Linked DNA regions of Homo sapiens: regions 1, 3 and 4 are each linked to region 2. Evidence: promoter capture Hi-C in 16 types of primary human blood cells and fetal thymus (Javierre and others, 2016). All regions are on one chromosome and are shown on one strand. Each heading gives the region's core, a stretch centred on a gene start or on the middle of the fragment in contact. The rest is flanking DNA. Distances are from core to core; before and after follow the strand shown. Region 1 has its middle 12 kb from the start of ITGAM. Region 2 holds the start of AHSP (alpha hemoglobin stabilizing protein). Region 3 has its middle 35 kb from the start of ZNF267. Region 4 has its middle 67 kb from the start of ZNF267.

Evidence for each region. The method cuts DNA at HindIII sites, captures the fragments that hold promoters and counts their contacts. A CHiCAGO score of 5 or more calls a contact.
Region 1: a fragment that was not itself captured here is called in contact with the fragment with the promoter of AHSP in region 2 in 1 of 17 cell types (endothelial precursors); the score reaches 5.1 in endothelial precursors.
Region 3: a contact is called between a fragment that was not itself captured here and the fragment with the promoter of AHSP in region 2, in 10 of 17 cell types (M1 macrophages, naive CD4 T cells, total CD8 T cells and 7 more). The highest score is 10.1, in M1 macrophages.
Region 4: a fragment that was not itself captured here is called in contact with the fragment with the promoter of AHSP in region 2 in 16 of 17 cell types (total CD8 T cells, activated CD4 T cells, naive CD8 T cells and 13 more); the score reaches 16.2 in total CD8 T cells.

What each region holds. Positions count from the first base shown.
Region 1 is chr16:31,244,461-31,252,191 of GRCh38, forward strand. No RefSeq gene overlaps it. Among named protein-coding and RNA genes, the nearest start is that of ITGAM, 12 kb to the right of the region's middle. RefSeq lists enhancers at 1-424, 425-928, 1,434-1,936. The HindIII fragment of the contact is 2,752 bases long and covers 3,826-6,577 here.
Region 2 is chr16:31,522,973-31,530,788 of GRCh38, forward strand. It overlaps AHSP (alpha hemoglobin stabilizing protein), which reads left to right and starts at 4,928. Exons shown (of 3, transcript NM_016633.4): 1 at 4,928-4,990; 2 at 5,164-5,242; 3 at 5,486-5,831. The coding sequence starts at 5,168. The coding sequence ends at 5,719. The HindIII fragment of the contact is 1,316 bases long and covers 3,936-5,251 here.
Region 3 is chr16:31,834,662-31,842,091 of GRCh38, forward strand. No RefSeq gene overlaps it. Among named protein-coding and RNA genes, the nearest start is that of ZNF267, 35 kb to the right of the region's middle. The HindIII fragment of the contact is 2,976 bases long and covers 3,233-6,208 here.
Region 4 is chr16:31,802,675-31,810,275 of GRCh38, forward strand. It overlaps the pseudogene PPP2CBP1 and the pseudogene VN1R3. Among named protein-coding and RNA genes, the nearest start is that of ZNF267, 67 kb to the right of the region's middle. The HindIII fragment of the contact is 1,605 bases long and covers 4,862-6,466 here.

The DNA.
Region 1 (7,731 bases), core at 3,952-6,451, 280 kb before region 2:
GGCTGGAGTGCAGTCACATGACTGTGGCTCGTTGCAGCCTTGACCTCCTGGGCTCAAGTGATCCTTCTGCCTCAGCCTCCTGAGTAGCTGAAACTACAGGTGTGTACCACCCTAGACAACTAAAAATGCTTAATGGTTTTTGTGAAATGTGTTTTAGTGTTTAAAAAGCTATATTCTCTTCCTCCTTTTTTTTTTTGAGATGGAGTTTCGCTCTTGTTGCCCAGACTGGAGTGCAATGGTGCGATCTCGGCTCACCACAAACTCTGCCTCCCAGGTTCAAGGGATTCCCCTGCCTCAGCCTCCCGAATAGCTGGGATTACAGGCATGCGCCACCACGCCGGCTAATTTTGTATTTTTAGTAGAGATGGGGTTTCTCCATGTTGGTCAGGCTGGTCTCAAACTCCCGACCTCAGGTGATCCGCCTGCCTTGGCCTCCCAAAGTGCTGGGGTTACAGGCGTGAGCCACCACGCCTGGCCTTGTTTGTTGAGATGGAGTTTCACTCTTGTTGCCCAGGCTGGAGTGCCATGGTGTGATCTCAGCTCACCGCAACCTCCACCTCCCAGGTTCAAGTGATTCTCCTGCCTCAGCCTCAGCCTCCTGAGTAGCTGGGATTACAGGCATGTGCCACCATGCCCGGCTAAAAAGTATTTTTAGTAGAGATGGGGTTTCTCCATGTTGGTCAGGCTGGTCTTGAACTCCCGACGTCAGGTGATCTGCTCGCCTTGGCCTCCCAAAGTGCTAGGATTACAGGCGTGAGCCACTGTGCCTGGCTTTTTTTTTTTTTTTTTTTTTTTGGACAGAGTTTTGTTCTGTTGCCCAGGCTGGAATGCAGTGGTGTGAATTTTAAATTTTTCTGTAGAGATGAGTATTGAGGGAAATTCAGCCAGATATCGGGTGAAATTCACCCCTGATATTTCACATAGAATATTCTTTTCTATTTTCCCTAAGTGTCAGCTGGTCTGAGAAATAAAGGGACAGAGTACAAAAGAGAGAAATTTTAAAGCTGGGTGTCCAGGGGAGACATCACATGTCAGCAGGTTCTGTGATGCCCCCTGAGCCGTAAAACCAGCAAGTTTTTATTAGTGATTTTCAAAAGGGGAGGGAGTGTACGAATAGGATGTGGGTCACAGAGATCACATGCTTCACAAGGTAATAAGATATCACAAGGCAAATGGAGGCAGGGCGAGATCACAGGACCACAGGACTGGGGTGAAATTAAAATTGCTAATGAAGTTTCAGGAACGCATTGTCATTGATAACATCTTACCAGGAGCCAGGGTTTGAGAGCAGACAACCGGTCTGATCAAAATTTATTAGGTGGGAATTTCCTCGTCCTAATAAACCTGGAAGCGCTATGGGAGAGTGGGGCTTATTTCATCCCTACAGCTTTGACCATAAATGACGGCTGCCCCCCGAAGCGGCCATTTCAGAGGCCTCCCCTCAGGGATGCATCCTCTTTCTCAGGGATGTTCCTTGCTGAGAAAAAGAATTCAGTGATATTTCTCCCATTTGCTTTTGAAAGAAGAGAAATATGGCTCTGTTCCGCCTGGCTCACCGGCAGTCAGAATTTAAGGTTGTCTGTCTTATTCCCTGAACATTGCTGTTATCCTGTTCTTTTTTCAAGGTGCCCAGATTTCATATTGTTCAAACACACATGCTCTACAAACAATTTGTGCAGTTAACACAATCATCACCGGGTCCTGAGGTGACATGCATCCTCCTCGGTTTACGAGATGACGGGATTAAGAGATTAAAGTAAAGACAGGCATAGGAAATCACAAGGGTATTGATTGGGGAAGTGATATGTGTCCATGAAATCTTCACAATTTATGTTCAGAGATTGCAGTAAAGACAGGCATAAGAAATTATGAAAGTATTAATTTGGGAAACTAATAAATGTCCATGAAATCTTCACAATTTATGTTCTTCTGCCATGGCTTCAGCTGGTCCCTCCATTAGGGGTTCCGGGCTTCCCACAACAGAAGAGGTCTTGCTATATTATCGGTCTTGAACTCCTAGCTTCAAGTGATCCTCCCACCTCAGCCCCGCAAAGTCCCAGTGTGAGCCACTGCACCCAGCCTGGTTACATAACTTCCATGTGCCTCAGTTTCTTCATCTGCAAAATGGGGCTAGAATACCTTCTTCATAGGATTTCTATGAAGGGTCAGTGAGTGAACACATGCTAATCACTTAGAACCATGTCTGGCACAGAGTAAATTCTCAATCAGTGTCAGTTTTTATTATGTATTATTATTATTATTGTAAAATACAGTATGTCATTATAGTATGTATTGACTATTTGTTCTACATTTTCAATTTTCAAGAATTAGGCACTTTTAGTTATATTTTCAGTATTTTCTGTTTTTACCTTAATCTATCATTTCTGATTTTACCTTAATCAGGGATGTGGTATGTATCATTTCTGCCTTTCTGTGGCATGAAATTGGAATGGTATTTGTGAAATGAGTTTTAGTGCTTAAAAAGCTTTATTTATTTATTTTTTTGAGACAGAGTGTTGCTCTGTCGCCCAGGCTGGAGTGCAGTGGTGCGATCTCGGCTCACAGAAACCTCTGCCTCCCAGGCTCAAGCGATTCTAATGCCTCAGCCTCCCAAGTAGCTGGGATTACTTAAAGGCATGTGCTACTATGCCTGGCTAATTTTTGTATTTTTAGTGGAGATGGGGTTTTGCCATGTTGGCCAGGCTGGTCTCAAACTCCTGGCCTCAAGTGATCCATCCTCCCTGGCCTCCCAAAGTGCTGGGATTACAGGCGTGAGCCACCACACACCCACACACAGCCTATTCATCTTTTTTTTTAAAGACAGGATCTTGCTCTGTTGCCCAGGCTGGAGTGCAGGAGTGCAGTACATCATAGCTCACTGCAGCCTTGAACTCCTAAGCTCAAGCCATCCTCCTGCCCTTGACCCTCCAAGTAGCTGGCACTACAGGCATGACATACATCTATTAATGCTACCTTATTAGCTGTGTCGTTCACATCAACCAGTTAATTTGCATGTCTATAACTACATCTGAATTTGTGCGCGCTCTCTCTCTTTTTTTTTTTTTTTTTTTACGGAGTCTTGCTTTGTCCCCCAGGCTGGAGTGCAGTGACATGATCTCAGCTCACTGCAACCTCCGCCTTCTGGGTTCAAGTGATTCTCCTGCCTCAGCCTCCCGAGTAGCTGGGACTACAGGTGCTCGCCACCATGCCCGGCTAATTTTTGTATTTTTTAGTAGAGATGGGGTTTCACCATGTTGGCCAGGATGGTCTTGATCTCTTGATCTTGTGATCCGCCCGCCTTGGCGTCCCAAAGTGCTGGGATTACAGGCGTGAGCCACCGCACCCCGCCAGCATTCTTTGTCTTGTCCACAGCTGAAGTTTCCATTATTTATTTATTCAACCAAACTTCATCAAACTCCTTTTTAATGTAGCACATACCATGCTCAGTCTTAGGCGTATGCATTTGGATAATTCAAAATTGTTGCCTTCAAAAAGCTATAGTGAGAGAAATAACCTCATAAACAATAAGATCACAGTGTGAGGACTGCTAATAGAGCTGTGTGTAACAGAGCTTGGGGTTAAGCAGGAAAATTAGGGCAGGCTTCTCAGAAGAGGTGACAACTTGAGTTGGCCCTTGGAGAGCAAGTAGGAGTTTCTAAGGAAAACAAAAAGAAGCAGAAGGATGGTATTCCAGACACACCCAATAGTCAATTGTACTATTAGTTTGATGCAAACGTAATTGCGGTTTTGGCCATGACTTTAATTACTTTAGTTACATTTGCACCCACCTAATAATTATCTGAAACTGCATGACAAATGACCCTAAGCTTAGAGGCTTAAAACAACAGTAATCATTTCTTATCTCCCTTGATTTCTTTTCTTAAATTTAAAAAAATTTTTGGCCGGGTGCAGTGGCTCACATCTGTAATCCCAGCACCACAGTAGCAAAAATAGCTGCAGTGGTTCCAGGTTTTACATCACACTAGGAGGAGAAAAAACATCTTTGTCCTGAGATCCACTTTGATTAGACACATGCCCACACTTGAACCAACGACTTATGTCAGAGCGATAGAATAGTTGGATTGTCTTAGTGTAGTTCACATGCTCCACCCTCAGACCTGGGGCAAAGTCAGTTCTTCCCAAACCACGTAGTCCTCCAAGTGGAAATTGAGAGTCGCTGGGAAGGGGGAAACTGGATGCTGGGGAGATAACCACAAGTGTCCACACAAACTCAATTGTGATGTGGTTCATCTAAGCAACACTCAGTGAGCCCCAGCCAGATAAGGTGCTGGGTCCTGGGATAAAGCCATGAGCAGGACATAGTCACTGCTCTCAAGGCAGCCATTGTTTATCACCCCCCAAGAACGTAAGCTCCTTAAAGGTAGGGAGGTTTCCTCTCTCGTTCACATCCATTTCCCTGAGCCTGGAGCAGCACCTGGCACATAGTTAATACCTGTTGAATGAAGAGTCTAGTGGAAAGATGGGCATAATCTCCAAGTCATCACACCATATACAGTTTAATGCTAGCTCTAGGGACTTTGAGGGGCCAGGGTGTGTGATCCACCCTTTTACTTCTCCTCCTTTTTCTCTTCCTTCTGTTTGTGGCTCCCCCAGGGTGAGAGATTGAGAGGAAAGAATTGAAGGGATGGCAGGGGTTCCACATGACTGGTACCCATATGTGGTTGGAAATGCCCTGACTCTCTCTAGACTCCAAGCTGGGTCCATCTCTTGCTTGTGGTCCCCAGTAGCTGAAGTACAGCTGAGGTGTTCCTGGGGTTGCTATTTAGCTTAACCATGGCTCTCTCCTCTGCTGAGGAGCCCCTTGGAGTGAGAGATGCCTGCCTCCCCTCAGGGCTTTGCCTCCACCCTTTCTCCAACCTCTGTATTCCTTCATGTGGAACCAGGAAGCCCCCCTCTCCCTCAATTTCCCACTTTATTTAAGGCACATAAAACTTTTCTGGAGGAAAGCTCTTGTTGAATCTGCAGCCTCTCCCCAAACCCCAAGGCCTGTAAAGCTCTGAATAGAGAGGCCCTGAGCTGAATGTGACAGTAATGATACTTATATCAGGTCAAGGATGCCTAAGGACCATAGTTACTTTGTCAAATTGTACAAGATGTTTCATCCAGAGCGTGCTTAGAGTAATGATAATGATATGTGGCAGAGAGAGCTAGTTGCCCCCATGTGCTTTCCTCTTCTTCCTTTAGTAATGCAACCCCATTAATTAGCACACAGATACTTAGGATAACATCACATTTTCCAGTCACCACTGCAGTTGTGTGTGGCCATGTGACTAAGTCCTGGCCAATGAGATGTGAAGGAAATGATGTGTGCAACATTTGGTCTCACCTTTAAAGGAAAGGGGCCTTCCCACCATTTTTTTTCTTTGTTATGAGACAGAGTCTCACTCTGTCACCCAGGCTGGAGTGCAGTGGCATGCTCTTGGCTCACTGCAACCTCCACCTTCCAGGTTCAAGCGATTCTCCTGCCTCAGCCTCCCAAGGAGCTGGGACTATAAGCGCCCGCCACAATGGCTGGCTAATTTTTGTATTTTTAGTAAAGGCGGGGTTTCACCATGTTTGCCAGGCTGGTCTCGAACTCCTGACCTCATGTGAACCCACTTCGGCCTCCCAAAATGCTGGGATTACAGGTGTGAGCCACTGTGCCTGGCTTTTTTTTTTTTTGATACAGATTCTTGCTCTGTTACCCAGGCTGGAGTAAAGTGGTGCAATCTTGACTCACTGCAGCCTTGACCTCCCAGGCTCAGGTGATCCTCCCACCTAAGCCTCCCAAGTAGCAGGGACCACAGGCACATGCTACCATGCCCAGCTAATTTTTTTTTGTAATTTTTATAGAGACAAGGTTGTGTCATGTTGCTGCGCTGGTCTTGAACTCGTGGGCTCAAGTGATCTGCCTGCCTCGGCCTTCTAAAGTGCTGGGATTACAGACATAAGCCAACGTGCCTGGCCTCAATTTTTTTTTTTTTTTTTTTGAGACAAAGTCTCACTCTATTGCCCAGGATGGAGTACAGTGGCTTGAGCTCGGCTCACTGCAACCTCTGCCTCCTGAGTTCAAGCGATTCTCCTGCCTCAGTCTCCCAAGTTGCTGGGATTGCAGGCATGTGCCACCACACCCAGCTAATTTTTGTATTTTTAGTAGAGATGGGGTTTCACCATGTTGGTTAGGCTGGTCTTGAACTCCTGACCTCAGGTGATCCGCCTGCCTCGGCCTCCCAAAGTGCTGGGATTACAGGCGTGAGCCACCACTCCCTGCCAGGCACCACTTCTTTTTATCCTTCCTGTCAGCCCGAGGGTGGACTTGGCGCTGGGCCGTCTTTGACCAGGCGGATGAAGACAAAACCCTCAGGATGGCAGAGCAACCTGCTGGAGGGAGCCTGGATCTCCAACACCATGGAGCCTCCGTAACCCCCAAATGCTGATGCTGGGGCCATCACAGGACTGTCTGGGCTAAGCCTCTGTGATTTTGGGTCTTATTACAACAGTTGAACCTTAGTCTCCACCAATACAAATAATCATCTTTGCCGGTGGGGGCGCATCTTACATGCCAGGCACTGTGCTAAGCTTTTCACATGCATTATTTAATTTAACCCTTACAAAAACTCTGTTAAGTCACACATCAGTTAGGGCCTTTTGGGGAAAAACAACAGAACAAGTAGAACATGAGATTTACTGAGTACCAAGTAGCCTATTCCAGGAATTAGTAGTTTTGTTTCCTGCCCTGCTCAGGTTAGGCCCTGAGCAACTCCTCCTTTCAAGGTTGGGAGGCAAGAACTTAGAGATGGTGAAATGGCTGTCGCTGCCCTGCAAGTCACCTGTGGCCAACCATGCTCTTTGTGTGACCTTGGTCGAAACACCTGGGACTCACAAAGCCTGTGGTAGAACAATTTCCTTGGCCTGCCAGACATTTGGCCTGCTGCATGGACAACTGAGGTGGCAAGGGAAGCATCCAGAATGCTTCCCACTGAGCGACAGGCAGCTTTCAGCCACCTACCTCTGTGTGTCATCGAGGGTGCGCTGGCCAGGTCATCCATCAACCCAACACAGTTGGTAGAATGATTACAGCGAATGTTGACTACATGCACTTTGACATCTATTATTATCTCATTTAACTATCACAATCACCCCAAGATGTTAGTACAATTATTGCCCCCATTTTCCAGATGAGGACAGTGAGGTCCAGAGAGTAAGTTGTTCAAGGGCATACTTATAGACCTAGGATATTTTTATTCTTTTTTTTTTTTTTTCTGAGATGAGATCTTGCTCTGTTGCCCAGGCTGGAGGGCAGTGGTGTGATCTTGGCTCATTGCAATCTCCGCCTCCTGGGTTCAAGTGATTTTCTTGCCTCAGCCTCCTGAGTAGCTGGGATTACAGGCATGTGCCACCATTCCCGGCTAATTTTTGTATTTTTGGTAGAGACAGGGTTTCGCTATATTGTCCAGGCTGGTTTCAAACTTCTGACTTCAGGTGATCCACCTGCCTCAGCCTCCCAAAGTGCTGGGATTACAGGTGTGAGCCACCACACCCGGCGTAGACCTAGGATTTTAGTGCCCTTAGTCTGATTCCAGACCCAAAGGCTTAACCAGATGGCTGAGGATGACACTCAGGTGGAACTTTTTTTTCTTACTTTTTTTTTTTTTTAAGACAGGGTCTCGCTGTGTTGCCCAAGCTGGAGTGCGGTGGTGCAATCAGCTCACTGCAGCCTCAATCTCCTGG
Region 2 (7,816 bases), core at 3,678-6,177:
AGCACAAAAGCATGTGAGTTATCTTAGGATAAAGTTAAGTGGGGATAGTGGAATAGAAATACAAGTTCAAGAAGTAAAAGGCATGTTGTAAAACTCCCAGCTGCTAAGGAAAAACCTGTTTGGTTTTTAAAAAAATATATAGTGGTCAGGGCCAAATCACCACCCCATTAACATTGTGTTGGACACATTCAAAAGAGCGATGTGCGGTTTGTTTAAATGTGTTTGGATCCTGTCACAATTAAAAGCCTTTGCTATGATTTAAATGTATGAGGCAAAAATAAATGTCTACAAAACTTGTGTGGGAGTATACACAAAGATTCTTTAGAAGGATTGGATGAAAGAATTTGAAGACAGTTAAAGGAAAGAATCCCTAGCTGACATTACTTTTCCTCCTGAAACATGCAGTGGGGCTGCCCAGGCCTTTGTCTCCATTTGTTCTATTTACCTGTAGGAAAATAAGACTTGGTTCTCATCATAATTTTAGCAGTCATGACGTACATGGCCTCAAGGGAGTTCCAGAGGATGTTTTAGGCTCCAGGAGCCATTTAAGGGATGTTTCTTTCCAAAGAAAATGTTCATGTCATGAATTTTATTCCACTAACATAATCTGAACATACGGGTCTACCTTTAAATAATGGGCCAGATGACCCCTGTTTATCTAGGAGTGCAGTCTTCTGTCAGGGCAGATGTCCTTTCTACTGTGGAGAATTGCATTTTGAGACCCTATGAGTCTGAGCATATCTGTAAGGGGCTGCTGCTGTCTATTATTAGGGCGGCCTCTTTAGCTTTGGCTCTACACCATGTGGCTTGAAGATTTTCCTTGAATTTGACCTGAGCCCCTGACCCCACCCACATTGCTGGGGAGGAGGGGCCCGTTCTGGACTCTGGCACCTGTAACTCCTGACCCCCGGTCTTGCTTGCAGCGGAAAAGGAGAGGCAGAAGAGGGAGGTGCACACTCAGCCACTCTGGGCATCCTTCCTGGGTGGACTGGGCCCCCTGCAGGGCCTGCTCTCACCTACCCAGGAGCACAGCTGATCTCGGCTGGGTCTCCCTCAGCACACTCAGGATGTGTGGGGCAGGTGTCTGCGAGTCCCCGGGGGACTCAGGTTCCTGGCCAGTCTCACTGCCCCCTGCCCCAGCATTGAGACCCTCATGTGGCTGCAGATGTGGCTGATAGTGCCAATCAAGGGAGCCTCTGTCTTCCCAAACTTAAATTTCCCCTCCCATAACCTATAACTTCAGCCCCCTCCATTTTCTGAGCTAAGCTCCAATTAGTGAAAACAAAGTCAAGTGGGAGTCAGGGGACAGGAAAGTGGCCCAGGGGTGGGGCAGAAGAGGGGGAAGGGACAAGTCTCTCTCGAATGGATCCAGAGTGAGCTCCTCCCTCTTGCGAGTAGCCATGCTGCCAAGACGCTGACCTTCAGATGCGCAAGGCTCATGTCTCCTCCCCAGCCCTGGGACCCTCTGGAGGCTGCAGGTCCTGATTGCTGTGCCAGTCACAGCAGGAACAGGCCCCAAAAACGTCACATCTCCAGGAAATAAGACCAAGGTTCCACCTAACCAGTTCAGCTCTCACCTCCCTCCCAAAATGTTCACAGGGGAAACCATGGGCCAAACTATGTAACATGAAATCTACAACCTTTTTGCCCTGACTCCAACCTGGTACTGCCACGAGCAAGTCAGGGTTTTGCGTTGACTGAGTGGGATTTGGGTCATCAATTCCAATCAGATTTCTGGAGAAGGCTCTTCTTTCCCTGATGATTGAGGTCTTCATTGCAGTCCTCTCGGTGGAAGGAGAGGCCTTCCTGGAAGTCCAAACAGTTCTCTTTTCCTCCCTCTGGCTAATTTCTTGTTCAGCTGAAGCAGAGCCTGCCTCGATGAGGGAGTTCCTATTAGGTTTCTTAATTTTTAAGAGACATCACCAGAAGTGAATTCCTCTGTAAATCAGCAGTGCTTTATTTTTCTGTTGCAGAATGAGTTTGTGATCCTGGTTTTCTACAATTCTTTAGCAAATGTGTTTTTGTAATCTCACGTTCAACCCTTCCTTTATTGATGTATCTAGCATGCTGAAAGGGAATCAGTTTCCCCTGCTATTCTCAAGACACTGGTTGAGGGAGGAGACTTCAATTCTTCACTACATCTCACTAATTTTACTCTGCAATTCATTATAGTCCAGGTAGTTAGATTAGTTCCAACTGTGCCAGGAAATTTTGAGGAATGAACAAAATTAGATTTTTTTTTCCTTTTTTTTTTAAAAGATGGGGTCTCACTATGTTGCCCAGGCTGGTCTTGAACCCTTGGGCTCAGACGATCCTGCCGTCTCTGCCTCTTACAGGCATGAGCCACTGTGCGTGGCTTCAATGTTAGATGTGTTCTTGGCAGCATGGTCTTCTAAGCCATCTGAGGCAGCACCATCTCTTTTGAGTTTCCTGGCATGTACCAGAGACCTTCCTGAAACTTTTCCTTAATGAGCTTTGGAAGGGCATTGGGATCTTGATCTTTCCCATCTGGTAATGAATTATTTTTAAAGAAATATTTAAGAAAAATTATTTAGAAGTGAAAGGATGTAGGAGACAGTCGGCCTGGTGTGATGTGAGAAAGACTGGACCTGGTGGTCATTGCTGGCTTTCAAGCTGGAAAGGGACCAGGAGTGAAAGAATGTGGGTTCTTCTATAGACTAGAAGAGGAAAGAAAAAGAACTCTTTTTCAGAGATTCCAAGGGGAACACAGCCTAGAGGACAACTTAATTTTAGCCTAGTGAGTCTCATTTTAGATTTCTGACCTCTAAGTCTGTAAGATAATAAATTTATTTATTTATTTATTTATTTAGAGACAAGGTCTCACTCTGTCACCCAGGCTGGAGTGCAGTGGCGTGATCTTCGCTCACTGCGGCCTCTTCCTCCTGGGTTCAAGCGATTCTCCTGCCTCAGCCTCCCAAGTAGCTGGGATTACAGGTGCATGCCACCATGTCTGGCTAATTTTTGTATTTTTAGTAGAGAGGGGGTTTCGCCATGTTAGCCAGGATGGTCTCGAACTCCTGACCTCAAGTGATCTGCCTGCCTTGACCTCCCAAAGTGCTGGGATCACAGATGGGAGCCACCGTGCCTGGCCGGTAACACATACTTTCCACCCTATATAAATGAAAACATGTTCACATGGAAACCTGTACACAAATGTTTATAGCAACTCTATTCACACTTGCCCCAAAGTACAAACAATCCAGATGTCCTTCCGTGGCTGAATGAACAAACTACAGTGCATCCATACAATGCAATGTGTCCACTGACACTTGTGACAACTTGGATGGAGCTCAAGAACATCATGCTGACCAAAAAAAGTCAGTCTCAAAGGTTACATACTGTATGATTCCATTTATATGACATCCTGAAAAAGGCTTAACTGTAGTGATGAACAGATAAGTGGTTGCCAGAAGTTATGGGTGAGGGTAGGGGTGGCTACAAAAGGGTAACGTGAAGGAGTGGTTTTTGGGTGACAGAAACATTCTGTATCTTAACTGCGTTTGTAGTTACACAAATCTGTTATAAAATTAATAAACTAGGCCAGATGCGGTAGCTCACACCTGTAATCCCAGCACTTTGGGAGGCCAAGGTGGGTCGATCACTTGAGGTCAGGAGTTCGAGACTAGCCTGGCCAACATGGTGAAACCCCATCTCTACTAAAATACAAAAATTAGCTAGGCGTGGTGATGCACGCCTGTAATCCCAGCTACTTGGGAGGCTGAGGCAGGAGAATCGCCTGAACCTGGGAGGTAAAGTTTGCAGTGAGCTGAGATCGCATCACTGCACTCCAGCCTGGGCCACAGAGGGAGACTCCCTCTCAAAAAAAAAAAATTTAATATACTGTACACCAAAAGGAAGTCAGTTTTGCTGTATATTGATTAAAAAATGCTACAACCAAAAAGGCAAATCAACAAAGCTTTATGAGTGTATAGGCACCTATGAATGTTGGGTTTTGAATGGAAAAAAAAAGTGACAGGAAATATACAATGTTTAATGCTGGTTACTTTGGAGGGGGCAAAAATGATTCAGTTTTTCAGTGTACGTTTTTGTATTGTTTTAATTATTTCAATTAGTATATAGTGATTTTGAAATTTGAGAAACATCTACTGAAAATGGAAAATATCTGGAAAAATATTTAAAAAGAGGAAAAAGAGTATTTCTGCTTTATTGGGTACCTGTTGACAGGGTAGTAAACAAGACAAATCCATCTCCATTCTTTTTTTTCTTTTGAGATGGAGTCTCGCCCTGTCACCCAGGCTGGAGTGCTGTGGTGTGATCTTGGCTCACTGCAACCTCTGCCTCCTGGGTTCAAGCGATTTTCGTGCCTCAGCCTCCCAAGTAGCTGAGACTACAGGTGCCCGCCACCACGCCCGGCTATTTATCTCCATTCTTATGGAGCACAGCGTGGTGGAGTTCAGTCCACACGCTTACAGGTGGCTTATCTGCAAAATGTGTCTAAAAAGAAATTTTATAGGATAAATATTTTGTACATGTTTGAAACAGTGCTTGGCACAAATGAATAAATGTAATGCAAGCTGCTATTAATACATCATCTCCGAATTGGGAGAATCATTGCGATCACATCGTTGTGATTACACAAAAGCCTCTGTCATGTAATAGGGCTCAGTAAACGTCAATTTCCATAGCATTTCGAGCCTGGATACTGAAATATGGGGCAAAAAGCAGGAACATGCCCCTGGTTTGGCTCTTGCCTTCTTGCATTTCCTGGGTTTCCTCATTTATCTTTTTTTTTTTTTTTTTTGGCCTTGTTATCTTTCTACCTTCAGGGAAGCCTCTCCCTTCTTCTCCTCCCTAGAATGACCTATCACCCTCCTTCAGGACCTAGATGCAGGGCGTTTCTATCTTAGGCTGACACTTGACTCCTTGCCTACATCTATAGCTTGGCACAGAGAGATTCACGCACCCTCAAGAGTGTGGGTGAGACATATACAGCCTGTTAGACCTGAAGGTGAGCCCAACCTGGGAAAATCGTGACCTCAGAGCAGGGCAGGATGTGAAAGGTTTTGGAAAGGAGATAGCCCTGCAGGGCAGGAGGGATTTTTAAGGGGAGGAAGTGGGTTGGGGGAAATACCCAGTGAGGAGGGAAACAGATATGTAAATTCTACCCTTTTCTCTACCCAGGCAGATGGCTCTTCTTAAGGCCAATAAGGATCTCATTTCCGCAGGATTGAAGGAGTTCAGCGTTCTGCTGAATCAGCAGGTGAGTCCAAGCTTTCCATTTCAAAGGACTGGCCTGGAGACTGGGGGGTGCCGGGGAAGTGGAGGAAGAGGATAATTGGAGCTGGTGAAGTAATGGTGGAGTTGATGGAAACAACGAGAGACACGGGATACAATGCAGAGGAAAGAGAATGTGAGAGTTGGTGCTGTGGCACTATTCTAGTATTCCCGAATCCCATTGCTGACCACATTCTCCCTTGCCAACTGCCTCTCCGCAACCCCCCAGGTCTTCAATGATCCTCTCGTCTCTGAAGAAGACATGGTGACTGTGGTGGAGGACTGGATGAACTTCTACATCAACTATTACAGGCAGCAGGTGACAGGGGAGCCCCAAGAGCGAGACAAGGCTCTGCAGGAGCTTCGGCAAGAGCTGAACACTCTGGCCAACCCTTTCCTGGCCAAGTACAGGGACTTCCTGAAGTCTCATGAGCTCCCGAGTCACCCACCGCCCTCCTCCTAGCTCAGGGACCCAGCCCCTCCTCTCTGAGAAACTCTGACCTTCATGTCCTTAGGCTGTGCTCCTGCCACTCTACCCTGACACCTCAATAAAGACCAGTGCTGGTTTTGTTGGACTTCCTGGCTTCTCTTTCATGGTCTGTCCTGACATGTGGAGGCACTCGGTCCCTTTCCTTCCGCCCTCCTTCTTAGATATGCTCTTGGAAGCTTAATTCCTTACAGCAGAGGTTAGCAGCCTTGAGTGACCACCGGGCAGCGATTCTAAACTAAAACAGGCTGAACGAGGGCCAGGAAGGCGGGACTAGAGAGAGTGCAGAGCTGCAGGGGAGGGGGTGGCAGAAACAAGAAAGGGGGATAGAAGTCCTCCAGACATTGTCCTGTGACCTGCTTGTCGAGGAGGAAACTGTTGGAAGTCTCCCAGTCTTGTTCATCCTGCGCCAGGTCCACCGCCTCGACTTTTCAATCCCCTGTCCTTAGCCCCAGCTCAAACTACATTCTAGGATCTTCGGACTCTGACTACCGCAAAATACCTCCCCGGAGCCCCAGGCATCGCAGGAATTTAGAGTTGGAAGGGATCCTGGGAACCCTTTAGCGCGCCCCTTATATTTCAGGAGGGGAAGCCACTTCCCTTTGGCTCCAACATCCCTGGGCGCAGATGCCAGGATTGGGAAGCAGAGGAATCCGCCTTCCCCCCACCCCAAGCTTCTCAGATCAATTCCCGGTCTAGCTCCCTTTCTCCCAGACCTCCAGACTCGAAGCCTCTATTTTAGGGCTCTGGGCGGAACCAGGGACGGGCCAGACTCAAGAGCTTTTTAAAAACGAAATGAAGGTGTTAGACCCGCGGCGCAGTCTCCAGGAAAAGCCTCCACGCGCAGAGGGGAGGGCCCTCCGGGGGAGGGTGCGCGGGGCGGGGGCGCGCGGGGGGAGGGGGTTCCCGGGGTGCTGAGCGGGGGCGGGGGTGCGCGGGGCGGGGGCGCGGCTAGGAGGCGCCGCACAGCAATCAGACGCGGCTCAGGGTGCGCGCGGGGAGCTGGAGGGCGCAGTTCTGGACCTTTTCGGTGTTCTCTCTAACGCGGGAAAAGTTTGGGGCCCAGAGGGATTGCTCCTCGTTCCAACCTCCAGCAAGCTTTCCTCTGGGACTTGTGAACCGACTGTTGTTTTGTAGGTCTCTGCAGCCTGGATCAGGGTGGAAAGGGAACCCGCTCAGTGTCCCCAGCGGTGCTTCCAACCCTGGGGTGTGGTCGGCCCTAGATCCAGCTTGGGAGAGTGGCGCCTCCCAGGGAAGCAGGCGGCGAGCTCCTCTGGGTTGGGGTCGGTGGTCCAGGCAGAGTCTGGGGCCTTCTCCACGGCACCTCTCAGGAAATCTCAGTCTGTGAGTGAGGACCAGAGCCCGCTCAGGCGGGACAGTAGTCGGCAGCCTCACCTTTGCAAGAGAGACCTGGCCTGGTGTGTGTGGGTGGAGGAAAGTGAGTGGGGGACGCTAGGAGAGCGCACAGCACAACGCTCCGGTGCCTTATGCAGAATGGCGAAATGTTTGCATGTAACCCACGCACATCTCTTCGTGGACTTCACATCATGGCTAGATTACTTACAATACCGACTACAACGTCAATGCTGTGCAAATAGTTGTTACACTGTATTATTTAGGGAGTAACGACAAGAAAAAAAGCCTGTACATGTTCAGTACAGAGGCAACCATCCATTTTTCTCCCCAAATATTTTCCATCCTTGGTTGGTTGAATCCACAGATGCGGAACCCACAGATACGGAGGGACCACTGTATTTGTCTTTCAGCTTAGCTGAAAAGAATGTTAGAAGCCGCTTTGGCTCAATTCATGAAGAGGAATTTTCCATACCTTTATAACTATCCAGCTATGGGAGCTGCTGAGCTAAGCACTTCTCAGGTGCTCAAAGGAAAATGACCAATTACAGGTGTAAGGTAGAAAAGATTCTCACTGGGAAGTTCAACATTGAAACTCCATTCCGACCATTCCATAAGCTTGTGCAATTGAGAAGCTGCAAAAAATATTTTTAAGACAGAAAAATCTGTTACCTGCACTTTCTGCTCTCATATTACTATCAACGAAGTGACTGGTTATAA
Region 3 (7,430 bases), core at 3,471-5,970, 310 kb after region 2:
AAATATCTAGTGGTGAACAAAAGTGAAAACATACATATCAAAACTCAAAGTATGCCATGAAAGCAGTGATAAGAGGGAAGTTTATGGAGATAAATGCCTACATTTAAAAAGAGAAAGATATCAAAATGACAACGTAACATTACACCCCAAAGAACTAAAAAAAAAATTAGCAGAAGGAAATGACAAAGATCAAAACAGAAACAAACCAAATAGAGAATGGAAAAGCTATAGAAAAATGAACAAAACTGGGTTGTTTTTTAAAAAACTAAAATCAACAAACACTTACCAAGACTAATAAAGAAAAAATAGACAAGACATAAATAAATAAAATCAGAAATGAAAGTGGAGACATTATCTCCACTAGTAATGTATCAGATATAAAAAGAATCATAAGGGACTATTATAAACATCTGTATACCAACCAATTGGATAGCTTAGGGAAAATATAAAAATTCCAGTACACATTCAACATGGTACTGGAAGTCCTAGTTAGAGTAATCAAACAAGAGAAAAAAATTAAAGGCATTCAAATTGGAAAAGAAGTCAAATTATCCCCATTCTTTGATTATATAACCTTATATCTAGAAAAACCTGAAGACTCCACCAAAGAAACTCTTAGATTTGATAAATGAATTCAGTAGTTTCAGAATACAAAATCAATATACAAAAATCAGCAGCATTTCTATACACCAATAACGATCAAGCTGATAATCAAATCAAGAAGGCAATCCCATTTCCAATAGGTACAAAAAATAATAAAATACTAGGAACATACATAACTGAGGAGGTGAAAGATCTCTAGAAGGAAAACTACAAAACACTGATGACAGCAATTGTAGCTGACATAAACAAATGGAAAAAATCCCATGCTTGTGAATTAGAAAAATTTATAGAGGCAAAATGACCAAACTGCCCAAAGCGACCTACAGACTCAATGCAATTCCTATCAAACTACCAATGTCATTTTTCACAGAATTAGAAGAAACAATACTAAAACTCATATGAAACCAAAAAGAGTCAAAGTAATCAAAGCAATCCTAAGCAAAAAGAACAAAGCTGGGCACATCACATTGCCTGACTTCAAATTATACCATAAGGCTAAGGTAACCAAAACAGCATGGTACTGGTATGAAAATAAACACACAGATCAATGGAACAGAATAGAGAGCTCAGAAATAAAACCACATGTTATAACCAACTGATCTTTGACAAAGTTGGCAAGAAAATACACTGAGGAAAGGACACCCTATTCAATAAATGGTGCTGGGAAAATAGATTGCCATATACACAAAAATGAAACTGGACCCCTACTTATCTATCTATCTATCAATCACTATATGCAAAAATCAACTCAAGATGGATTAAAGACTTAATGTAAGAATTAAAACTATTCACTCAGTGCTCAATGGCGCCCAGGCTGGAGTGCAGTGGTGTGATCTCAGCTCGCTACAACCTCCACCTCCCAGCCGCCTGCCTTGGCCTCCCAAAGTGCCGAGATTGCAGCCTCTGCCCGGCCGCCACCCCGTCTGGGAAGTGAGGAGCGTCTCTGCCTGGCTGCCCATCGTCTGGGATGTGAGGAGCCCCTCTGCCTGGCTGCCCAGTCTGGAAAGTGAGGAGCGTCTCTGCCCGGCCGCCATCCCATCTGGGAAGTGAGGAGCGCCTCTTCCCGGCCGCCATCCCATCTAGGAAGTGAGGAGCGTCTCTGCCCGGCCGCCCATCGTCTGGGATGTGGGGAGCGCCTCTGCCCCGCCGCCCCATCTGGGATGTGAGGAGCGCCTCTGCCCGGCCGCCACCCTGTCTGGGAGGTGAGGAGCGTCTCTGCCCGGCCGCCCCGTCTGAGAAGTGAGGAGACCCTCCGCCCGGCAGCCGCCCCGTATGAGAAGTGAGGAGCCTCTCCGCCCGGCAGCCACCCCACCTGGGAAGTGAGGAGCATCTCCGCCCGGCAGCCACCCCGTCTGGGAGGGAGGTGGGGGGGTCAGCCCCCCACCCGGCCAGCCGCCCCGTCTGGGAGGGAGGTGGGGGGGTCAGCCCCCCGCCCGGCCAGCTGCCCCATCCGGGAGGTGAGGGGCGCCTCTGCCCGGCCGCCCCTACTGGGAAGTGAGGAGCCCCTCTGCCCGGCCAGCCACCCCGTCCGGCCAGCCACCCCGTCCGGGAGGTGAGGGGCGCCTCTGCCCGGCCGCCCCTGCTGGGAGGTGAGGAGCCCCTCTGCCCGGCCACCACCCCGTCTGGGAGGTGTGCCCAACAGCTCATTGAGAGCGGGCCAGGATGACAATGGCGGCTTTGTGGAATGGAGGGGAGGGGGGGGGGGAAGGTGGGGAAAAGATTGAGGAATCGGATGGTTGCCGTGTCTGTGTAGAGGGAGGTGGACATGGGAGACTTTTCATTTTGTTCTGTACTAAGAAAAATTCTTCTGCCTTGGGATCCTGTTGATCTGTGACCTTACCCCCGACCCTGTGCTCTATGAAACATGTGCTGTGTCCACTCAGAGTTAAAAGGATTAAGGGCGGTGCAAGATGTGCTTTGTTAAACAGATGCTTGAAGGCAGCATGCTCATTAAGAGTCATCACCACTCCCTAATCTCAAGTACCCAGGGACACAAACGCTGCGGAAGGCTGCAGGGTCCTCTGCCTAGGAAAACCAGAGACCTTTGTTCACTTGTTTATCTGCTGACCTTCCCTCCACTATTGTCCTTTGACCCTGCCAAATCCCCCTCTGTGAGAAACACCCAAGAATGATCAATAAAAAAAAAATAAAAAACAAAGAATTAAAACTATAAAAATACTAGAAGAAAAACTGGGGAAAATTCTTCCAGACATTGATCTAAGCAAAGAATTCATGACTAACAGCTCAAAAGCACAGGCAAGGCTGGGTGTGGTGGCTCACAACTGTAATCCCAGCACTTTGGGAGGCTGAGGTGGGTGGATCACCTGAGGTCAGGAGTTCAAGACTAGCCTGGCCAACATGGCGAAACCCAGTCTCTACTAAAAATACAAAAATTAGCTGGGCATGGTGGCACTTGCCTGTAATCCCAGCTACGTGGGAGGGAATTGCTTGAACCTGGGAGGTGGAGGTTCCAGTGAGCCAAGATCATGCAGCTGCACTCCAGCCTCGGCGACAGAGTGAAACTCTGTCAAACAAACAAACAAACAAACAAACAAACAAAAAAAACCACACACAAAAAACCATAAGTAACAAAAAGAAAAACACACAAACTGAACTTAATTAAACTAAAAGCTTCTGCACTGCAAAATTATCAACAGAGTGAAGAGACAACTTGAATAATGGGAGGAAATACTTATGTTTCAGGGGACTAATATCCAGAATTTACAAGGAACTCAAACAATCCAACAAAAAAATAATAAATAGTCCTGTTTAAAAGTGGAAAAAGGCTGGGCATGGTGGCTCATGCCTGTAATCCTAGCACTTTGGGAGCCTGGGGCGGGTGGATCACCTGAGGTCAGGAGTTTGAGACCAGCCTGAACAACATGGAGAAACCCCGTCTCTATGAAAAATGCAAAAATTAGCCAGGCGTAGTGGCGCATGCCTATAATCCCAGCTACTCAGGAGGCTGAGGCAGGAGAATCGCCTGAATCTGGGAGGTGGTTGCAGTGAGCCAAGATTATGCCAATGTACTCCAGGCTGGGCAACAAGAGCAAAACTCTATCTCGGGGAAAAAAAAAAAGTGGAAAAAGGACATGAATAGACATTTTTCAAAAGAAGATATTCAGATGGCCAGCAGACATATGAAAAAATGCTTAACATTACTGATCATCAGAGAAATGCGAGTTAAAACCACAATGAGAAATCATCTTACACTAGCCAGAATAGCTATCATTAAAAAGACAAGCCGGGCATGGTGACTCAACGCCTGTAATCTCAGCACTTTCGGGGGCTGACGCAGGCAGATCACGAGGTCCGGAGATCGAGACCATCCTGGCTAACACGGTGAAACCCCGTCTCTAATAAAAATAAAAAAAATTAGCCAGGCATGGTGGCACGCACCTGTAGTCCCAACTACTCAGGAGGCTGAGGCAGAAGAATTGCTTGAACCTGGAAGGTGGAGGTTGCAGTGAGCTGAGATTGTGCCACTGCACTCCAGCCTGGGTGACAGAGTGAGACTCCATCTCAAAAAAAACAAAAAAAAAAAGACAAAAAATAACAGCTGTTGGTGAGGATATAGAGAAAAAAGAACCCTTACACACCGTTAGTGGGAATGTAAATTAGTACAACCTCTGTGGAAAACAGTATGGAGATTTCTCAAAGAACTAAAAATAGAACTACAATTCAATCCAGCAATCCCACTACCTCGTATCTACGTAAAAGAAAATAAATTGTTATATCAAAAAGATACCTGCCCTTATATGTTTATTGCAGCACTATTCACAATAGCAAAGATATGGAATCAACCTAAGTGGCCATCAATAGATGACTGGATAAAGAAAATGTCACACATACACACACCATGGAATACTACTCGTGGAAGACAAAAAATTAATAAAGAAATGGGAAACTTGAATAACACTATACACCAAATAAACTTAACAGACATATACAAAACTTTTCACCCAACAGCAGAAGAATATATATTCTTCTTAAGCATACATGCCACATTCTGCAGCACAGTCTGGCAAGAGACACCTCCACCAGGTGGGACAGGGAAGTGAACACTGGACCCTCCCTTGGACCCCAGCACCAGCCCTTTACCCGACCCCAGTGAAACCCAGCACCAAGAAGGCCCCCATGACCCCAAAGTCCAGGCTGGCATCAGCAGACTGAGCTGCCAGGTCCACCAAGGCACTGGGTTGGATTCTGCATCCTCAAGCTCCAGGCCTTCCTGGAAGGCTTGGTCTCCAGGCCAGCCCCACCACCAGGCCAGCCCCAGTGGCCATGGGCCTCAGGCCTGCCCTAGCACAGGCCAACCTCTACAAACCCAGGCTCTCTGCCTCTCCTCACATTCTCAGGCTCCAGGCTAGCCTCACAGACTGTCTCTGGGCCTTCCCCAGTATCAGGCCAGCCCCAATTGACCCAGACTTTGAGCCACTCCCAGCACTAGGCTTCAATCTGCCCCAGCACCAGGCTGGCTCCACAGCCCTACATCATCAGGCCAGTACCCATGGACCAGCCTCCCGGACTACTCCAGGGTCCAGCCAAGCCCAGAGCCAGGTTCACCCCTTCAGCCCCAGGCTTCAGCCTGCCCCAGCCCTAAGTTGGCACCCTGTCATCACGCACCAACCTGGCATCCATGGACACAGGCTCCAGGACTGCCTCCATGGCCCCATGACCCAGGCCACCCCTCGAAGACCTAGCCTCCAGGCCAGCACTGCATACCCAGCTTCCAGACTATCCCCTATGGACCAGGCTCCAGGCCAGTATCCACAATCCCAGGCTCCAGACACACCCCTGCAAACCCAGGCTCTATGCCTGCCCCAGCACCAGGCTAGCCTTAGGCTTCAGTCTAGTCCCACGAACTTCAGACTCCAGTGAACCCAGGATCCATGCTCACCCAAGTGAACTCCAGTTCCAGGTCAGTCACTGCAACCTGAGGCTCCAGGACTACCCCTGCAGACACAGGCTCCGGCTATCCCTGGTAGACCCAGGCCCCAGGACCCTGCAGACCTAGGGCCACCCCAGCACTAGACCAGCTCCTTTGTATTCAGGCTCCAGTCCTATCCCAGTTAATCCAGTTTCCAGATGGCTTCACTGAAGAATTCTACCAACATTTTAAAAACTAAACCTTCTCAAACTCTTCAAATAAATTAAAGAAGAAGGAATACTTTCAAATTCGTTTTATGAGGCTAGCATTACCCTGATGCCAAAGCCAGACAAGGATACTACAAGAAAAGAAAATTACAGGCCAATATCTCTGATGAACATAAATGCAAAAATCCTCAGCAAAATACTAGCAAACAAAATTCAACAGCACATTAAAAAGATTATTCACCATGATCACATGGAATTTGTCACAGAGATGCAAGGATGATTCAACACACACAAATCTATAAATGTAATACACACTACAGTAACAGAATGAAGGACAAAAACCATATGATCATCTCCATAGATGCATAAAAAGCATTTAACAAGGTTTAACATCCTTTATGATAAAAGCTCTCAACAAATTAGGTATAGAAGCAATGTACCTCAACACAATAAAAGTCATATATGACAAACCCATAGCTAATATCATACTTAATGGTGAAAAGTTAAAAGCTTTCCTTCTAGAAGCAGGAATGAAGAAAGAATGCTTACTCTTGCCACTTCCATTCAACATAGCACTGGAAGTTCTGGCCGGAGCAGTTAAGCAAGAGAAAGAGATAAACGGCATCCAAGTTAGAAAGGTAGAAGTGAAATTGTTGCTATTTGCAGATGACATGCTATTATACATAGAAAACCCTAAAGTCTCTACCAAAAAAACTGTTAGCTTTTTGAGATATATAATACCTTATTGTTGGCATCATACATCCTGTATGTTTCTACTACAAATAAATGATAAATGTGTGAGGCATGCTAGTTCATTTGATTTTATGAATAACACTGCATTCTACCCCGTAAGTAAGTACATTCATTATGTGTCCATTTAAGAAAGAATTTCAAGAAATCTGTCAGAACTAACAGGTAAATTCAGTAAAGCAGCAGGATACAAAATAAACATACAACAATCAGTAAAGTTCCACATTAACAATGAACTATCTCAGGGAAAAAAATCAGGAAAACTATCCCATTTATGATACTTAGCATTAAAAAAAATACTTAGAAACAAATATTACCCAGGAAGTGAAAGACTCATACATTGAAAACCATAAAACACTGATGAAAGAAATTAAAGAAGACACAAATAAATGGAAAGATATCCCATATTCATCATGGGTTGGAAGAATTAATATTGTTAAAATGTCTATGCCACCCAAAATGATCCACAGGCTCTATGCAATCCTTATCAAAACTCCAGTGACATGTTTTTTCACAGAAACAGAAAAAGCAATTCTAAATTTATATGGAGCCACAAAAGACCCTAAATAGTCAAGGCTATCTTGGGCAAAAAGAATAAAGTTGGAGGCCTCACACTACCTATTTCAAAATATACTACAAATCCATACTAATCAAAACAGTATTTTATAGGTATAAAAACAGACACATAGACCAATGAAACATAATAGATAGCCCAGAAATAAACCCACCCATTTATGGTCAATTGATTTTCAACACAGTTGCCAATAACGCACAGTGGGGAAAGAACAGTTTCTACAACAAATGCTGTCAGGAAAACTAGATATTCACATGCAGAAGAATGAAATTTCACTTTTTTTCACACCATCTGCAAAAATAAATTCAAAGTCGATCAAAGAGTTAAATGTAAGAACTAAAACTGTAAAACCACTAGAAGAAAACAAAGTAGAAAAGCTCCATGACATTGGTCTAAGCAATGGTTT
Region 4 (7,601 bases), core at 4,414-6,913, 280 kb after region 2:
TTAATATTTAATAAATGTTTATTCATTTTAAGAAATTGGCTCATGTAACTATAGAGGCTGAGAATTCCCATTATCTGCTGCCTTCAAGTCAGAAACCCAGGACACTCAGCGGTGTCACTTGAAGGTTTGAGAACCAGGAGTGCTGAGGGCAATAGAAGATCCCTTCAGGAGTAGCCCCAGATAAGGGACCCCAAAGAGTGACTTCACTTCCTTGACAATAGACCCCAACAGAACTTGGAACACTGGAAACCAGGCACCCACATTCTAGAAACAGTCTCTTCCCAGCTCACTTGGCTGAAGACAATAAAGAGAACTAGATGTCATCCTGCTGATCCCAATTTCCTATGTTTCTGGCACCAGAAAACCCTGAATGATAGGTTTTTCTGAAGCTGCTGACATTGGGTCAGCCCTCAATATCATCACCTCTAGCCATGTTCAGGAGGTACTCAAAGGTAACACTGGCAGCTGAGAGCAGGCCAGTCAATGTCTGGCCACCACCCTAATCCCACCTGGACAGTCACACCCCACCTCCCTATGTGTGTTCGCACAGTGGGGGTGATGTCATGTGGGTCTGGCCTGTCCTGAGCAGACCCAGGTGTTGGGTTGTCAGAAACCCAGTGACCCATCACATTCACTCCTCAGATCATGGCTCAAAAGTCTACAGAGCAGAGACAAGAGATTGACAAAGAGGTGTTGATGAGGTAATGTATTCCATTTCCCTAGGTGAAAGGCAGGCACACCACACTGTGAACAAGGACAAGTGCTGGACTGGAATGAGTGCAGGAGCAAAATGTTCTCTAAGGTGGGCACGGTGGCTCACGCCTGTAATCCCAGCACTTTGGGAGGCCAAGGTGGGGGGTCACCTGAGGTCAGGAGTTCGAGACCAGCTTGGTCAACATGGTGAAACCCTGTCTTTACTAAAAATACAAAAAAAAATTAGCCAGGCATGGTGGTGGGTGCCTGTAATCCCAGCTACTTGCCAGCCTGAAGCAGAATTGCTTAAACCTGGGAGGCAGAGGTTGCAGTGAGCCAAGACCACATCATTGCACTCCAGCCTGGACAACAAGAAAGAAACTCTGTCTCAAAAAAAAAAAAAAAAAAAAGTTATCTAATCCAGAACCTGGAGGGGGCTGGGGAAGGCCTTCTACTGAGACACTACTGTAAATGGCTTCATTCTGTACACACACATACACACACACACACACACACACACACGTGGGTGAACAAGTATGTAAACCTTGATATACAGATGTAGATATTCATTCTATTAGTTCTGTTTCTCTGTCTTCTTGAGTATAGCCATCTTAGTGGGTGTGAATTAACACTTCATTGTGGTTTTGATTTGAATTTCCCTAATGAATAAGAATTCTGAGCATCTTTTCATGTGCTCATTGGCCATTTATGTTTTATTGCAATATCCTCATGCATTGTTATCACCAATAATTAAAACATTCTCTGGTAAAGTATTTTTCTAAGTTAATTTACTTATAAAAATTACAAAGGCATGAAGTGATTTACTCAATGAATGCTGTTGTCCCATTTAATTTTTCATGTCATATGTCATAATATGAGCTTATTCTCTCATTGGCATGTCCTGTATTTCTGAAATGAACTCTTTTCAATCATTTTGTATACCTGTATATTAATTATACATGCAAATCCATGACTTACGCTTGCTTAGTTTTAAGTTTTGACATAATGTATGTATTAGGTATCTTATTATTTGACAGAAATCACTTTTTCCTCTAAGTTTTCTAATTTATTAGCATAAAGTTGTTTGTCTTAGAACGTAGACTTTTTAAAAATCTCCATGAAGTTTTAAATACTGTTTATTTTTTAATATTAAGTATATCTTTTCACATTTTTATTAACATTGCAGTAAGCTCTATTTTATCATTAATTTTATTTTATTCTATTCCATGTAATACTTATTCTAAATTTTTTACTTACATTATACTTTATGATAACGCATTATTTAGGCTAAGCTTCTTTTATTTTTTTGAGACAGTGTCTTGCTCTGTTGGCCGGACTGGAGAGCAGTGGCACAATTTAGGCTTACTGCAACCTCCGCTTCCCAGGTTCAAGCGATTCTCCTCAGCCTCCCAAGTGGCTGGGATTACAGGTGCCCACCACCACGCCTGGCTAATTTTTGTATTTTTAGTAGAGATGGGGTTGTACCCTGTTAGCCAGGCTGGTCTCAAACCCCTGACCTCAGGTAATCTGCCCACCTCAGCCTCCAAAATTGGTGGGATTACAGGCATGAGCCACCTCACCTGGCCAAGGTTAAGCTTCTTTTTATAATTTAATTTCAGAGTTTGACATCAAAAACACATATTGTCAGGCATCTTCTATTGTAGCATTTGAATTTGCAGCCATCTAATTTTCTCTAACTACTTTTGAACAAATACAGTGTACAACTTGAATATGAAGAATTTTTATTGTCTTTTCATCTGAAAAGTTCTAAATATTAATTAGGAATATTGCTCAGTTTTTAGGTTTAGTATTTAAAATTGCTTCATAAGCTATTTAAAAATATTTAATAGTGGCAAGGTTAATCTCTATGATTAAAATATTTTACATTCATTAAAGCTCCCTTTGTGATTGCATTATTTCAATCGTTCTATATTGCTGAGTAATGCAACACATAGCCCAATTTCGATATATGTCCATTAGGCCAAACTTATGCATTGTATTTTTCAAATATTTGAATTTTCAAGACATTTTACCTGCTTTACCTAACAATAATAAGAAAATGTCTGTGGAAATTTTTCACTTCAGCTACATGATTACCCCATTTGTTTTATGATTCTTTCAAATGGGCTTCCTTGAATATTTCAAGGCAGCAATTACCACCAACTCCCTAGAAAAAGGGAAGCATAAGCCTCCCCAGGGTCCCTGGCGTCGGCTCCTCCACCGACGGTGACTGGTTCCACCAGATTCACTTCCCAGAGGTCACCCTGATGCTTATTTCTTCTGAACAGGCTAATTGGGATTATTGCTAATACAGCATAGTCTACCCTCACAGGGTCCCGAAAATTAGGCAGTTTTCTTGATGAGTCTCATATTCATCGGCTGTGAGTCAAATTCTAATGAAAACCTCTTTCTACAGTCCTGTGCTCATTTCACTCCACCCAGACCACTGCATCCATTTTTACCTTAAAATATTTGAAATGGACCACTCTCCTCCCACAAAAAATTGTGCGAGAAGGCAAAGGAAATTTTAACAAAAGGATCAGATGTGCAAGAGGTTCGTTGCCCTGATACTGTCTGTGGAGATGTGCATGGTCAATTACATGATCTTATGGAACTCTTTAGAATTGGTGGAAAATCACCAGATACAAACTACTTATTAATGGGTGACTATGTAGACAGAGGATATTATTCAGTGGAGACTGTGACTCTTCTTGTAGCATTCATTATCCAGAATGCATTACAATATTGAGAGGAAATCACAAAAGCCAACAAATTACCCAAGTATATGGCTTTTATGATGAATGTCCGCGAAAGTATGGGAATGCCAATGTTTGAAAATACTTTACAGATCTCTTTGATTATCTTCCACTTATAACTTTAGTAGATGGACAGATATTCTGCCTCCATGGTGGCCTGTCTCCATCCACATACACACTGGATCATATAAGAGCCCTGGGTCATTTACAAGAAGTTCCACATGAGGGCCCAATGTATGATCTATTACGGTCAGATCCAGATGATCGTGGTGGATGGGGTATTTCACCCTGTGTGCTGGCTACACATTTGGACAAGACATTTCTGAAACCTTTAACCATGCCAATGGTCTCACACTGGTTTCTCGTGCCCACCAGCTTGTAATGGAGGGATACCATTGGTGTCATGATCAGAATGTGGTTACTATTTTCAGTGCACCCAATTACTGTTATTGTTGTGGTAACCAGGCTGCGATCATGGAACTAGATGACGCTTTAAGATATTCCTTCCTTCAGTTTGACCCAGCACTTTGTTGTGGCGAGCCTCATGTTACACAGCACACCCCAGACTACTTCCTATAAATTTCTCCTGGGAAACCTGCCTTTGTATGTGGAAGTATACCTGGCTTATTAAAATATATGTATTTAAAAACAAAAAGCAACAGTAATCTATGTGTTTCTGTAACAAATTGGGATCTGTCTTGGCGTTAAACCACATCATGGACCAAATGTGCCATACTAATGATGAGCATTTAGTACAATTTGAGACTGAAATTTAGTACACTATGTTCTAGATAGGTCACTCTAACAGTTTGCCTGCTGTATTTATAGTAACCATTTTCCTCCAGACCGTTCAAGCAGAAAAGGTAACTAATTGCTTCATCTCCTTTTGTGCTTATTTGGAAATTTTAGTTACAGTGTTTAACTGGCATGGATTAATAGAGTTGGAGTTTTATTTTTAAGAAAAATTCACAAGCTAACTTCCACTAATCCATTACCCTTTATTTTATTGAAATGTATAATTAACTTAACTGAAGAAAGGGTTCTTCTTGGGAGTACGTTGTCGTAACATTTACAGATTTCCCTTCATTTAAACTAAATTACTGTTGTATGTTGATCTGCTGCATATTTCTGTCATGACAGTGCTTGCATCCTATTTGGTGTAGTCAGCAAATAAACTTTTCATTTTAAACGAACAAATATAAGAAGCATGAATACAGGATCTACACATCAGAAAAATTATAGAGGGACAGAATTTTTAAAAAATAACCAAAACTAGTCTCAATAAAGTATAATTATCAAGGACAAAAAGAAAATTTTACAACTTGAAAATAGGAAAAAATGAAGATTAATTCAAAACAAAAAAGGACATGAACTATGACTTTCTTCTCACTTTCTTCATTGATCATTACTTAAGCTTCTTTATTTCATCAAACTTTTCTTACACTGCTGTGCCCAGTTAATTCCATGACATTTTTTATTAATTGGTTTAAAGTTGCATTGTTCCAACTTATTAGAGGCCCATTTTTAATTAATAATTTGCCTCTTAACTTCTCCATTGCAACATTAACAAAATGAAAATTATGAAATTACAAACAAAATGAAAATTATGAAAGCACTTTGCAAAAACATTTCATCTGTAACTGTTGTTTATGATACGTGAAAAATCCTTGAAGGGCAAAGACGGATTCTGAGTCTTATATACACTGCAATTGACTGCCCATTGCGGTGCTTAACCTGCAGGAAGAAATCAACAAACGGCCATTCATTATACAAAAAGAAGACAATCCACATAAATCGGAGAACTATCTGACCAGCTTAGGAAACTGTGGATTCCTTCCACAGCAGGCAGAGCCCAGCCTGGGTATCCTGGGATGGCGGCTCATGAGCACAAAGGGGCTGACCATGGGAAAACAGGCAGTGATCAGTGCAGAGGTGTTCAACAGCCACCAACTGGGATTAGGAAAAAGAGACATATGTAAAGATGGAGGAGAGCGAGTAAAGTAACACAAGGTGCTCACCAGGACCAGGATGCTTTGGGTGACTCTGGACTCAGGGGAGGATCTGGCGGAGAGGTTGGTCCCATGAATGTGCTGGACCTGCTGCTTGTGCCTGTGCAGGATAAAAACCATGGAGCCACTGGCCAAGGTCATGAGCCCCAAACACAAAACATCAAGGGATGATAACAAGACAATATGTAATGAATGTGGAATTCTGCTCCTACTTCCTCCAGAACAATATCCATAATCATTTGTCTTTGTGCTATTTATGCTGTTCCACTTGCCAGTCACATGTAGAAGAACAGTAATATTTACCAGCGTGTTCAGAATCCAGCACAGGACCAGGATAAAAGACCTGATGTATTTGTGAGCATGTAGCTTCAGCTCTGCCCACCTGAATTCACTGGGGCTGATGGTGATGACCTGGAAGACACTCAGTGCACACAGCCCTGCCCACTCTGTGAACATAAAACACAAATTTGCATCCAATATCACTGAGGGAATCTTTCAACCCAAAAGCAGCCATTGTTTGTGGGATTCCTTTAGAGAGTATAACCAAGGAGTTGGCTATGGTCAGGTGCTTGAGAATCAGATCTGTGGACTGTAACATACCTCTGGTGAAACAAAGGAAACTATAGTGGTAGAGAAGAAAGAAATTCCCCAGGAATCCGACCATGATCTGAGATAATAAGATCATGCCTATTGCAAAATCCTTGGAGGCCATTTGTCATTTTTCAGTGACTGATAATTACATTCAAAGTGAGAGAACCCTGTGTGGAAACATAAAGTTTCACTTTTGCAAATAAAATCCACTATTGTACACTTACCATTGTTTCCAACTTAGACATTTTCTTATTAGACCCTGTTTTTTAAATAAGAGTTTTGCTCTAAAAAGAAGAACATATGCATCCCCATGAGAGGAGTACTATATTAGTGTTTTGCATGTAACTTTTACAATAATTCTGTGGTATAAGTGCTTTACTATTTCCATTTTACAGGTAAGAAGATCTTACACAAGGAAGCTTAATGAATTTTCTAAAGTAACTGCTTTGTAAGAGGCAGAATCAAAATTGGACAATGTGTTTAATCACTGTGTGTCTCACCCTTGGACATAGTATTTTTTTAATGCTTCACACATTTCATGTTGTATATATTGTCGCTTTCTTTAAACCTGGATGTAGTTTTTTCTTCATTTTTGATTGTGGCAATTTCTCATTTAAATCTAAGTGCTTATTTCATGAGCAAATATCACCTATAATGATTCAGAAATCCAAGTAGAATATAGATGCACTGATTTAGTATAATCCTAAAAGAATAATCATACAAGACCAAATGATATTTATTGAATGCTTAAATGATTTCATGCTGAAATTAAAAAAGAAGATTCTTTCTCATCTTAACCAAGAAGGATACAGAAATGACTGTTGCTAAGCAAGGGGTCAAGGGACATGAGTAGGAGATAAAACAGTGCAAAGGAGAAACAGGTTGTCATGAATTACAGATAAATTTAGTATTTGTTTATGAATACAAAAATATCAAATGAAATTATTTCAGGCTGGGCACCATGGCTCTCATCTATAATCCCAGCACTTTGGGAGGCCAAGGTGGGCAAATCATTTGAGGTCAGGAGTTCGAGACCAGCCTGGCCAACATGATGAAACTCCATCTCTACTAAAAATACAAAAATTAGCTGGGCATGGTGGTGCATGCACCTGTGGTCCCAGCTACTTGGGAGGCTGAGGCAGGAGAATTGCTTGAACCCCGGAGGCGGAGGCTGCAGTGAGCTGAGATCCCACCACTGTACTCCAGCATGGGTGACAGAGAAAGACTCCATCTCAAAAAAAAAATTATTTCAATGTCAGAATTGTTAGGTATATTAAAATATAAGTCTGTTATGTAAAAGGAAAACTCGAGGTAGGGAAAATTATTCACTGAATTAAGTGTTACTAAGATGAGTATTGAGCCTAAGAATGGCTTCAGAACATTTTTGAAGACAGAGTAAATATTACCAAATAATTTACTTCAGAAAACGACTGAAGTCCTTGATTTTTGTTCTAATATGAAAACCTAAGGTCATCAAGATACCTTTCCTTGACCGCTCCTCCCCTGACTTCATGAAAGAATATGGTCTTTTCGTCATTCTCAGAGACCAGAT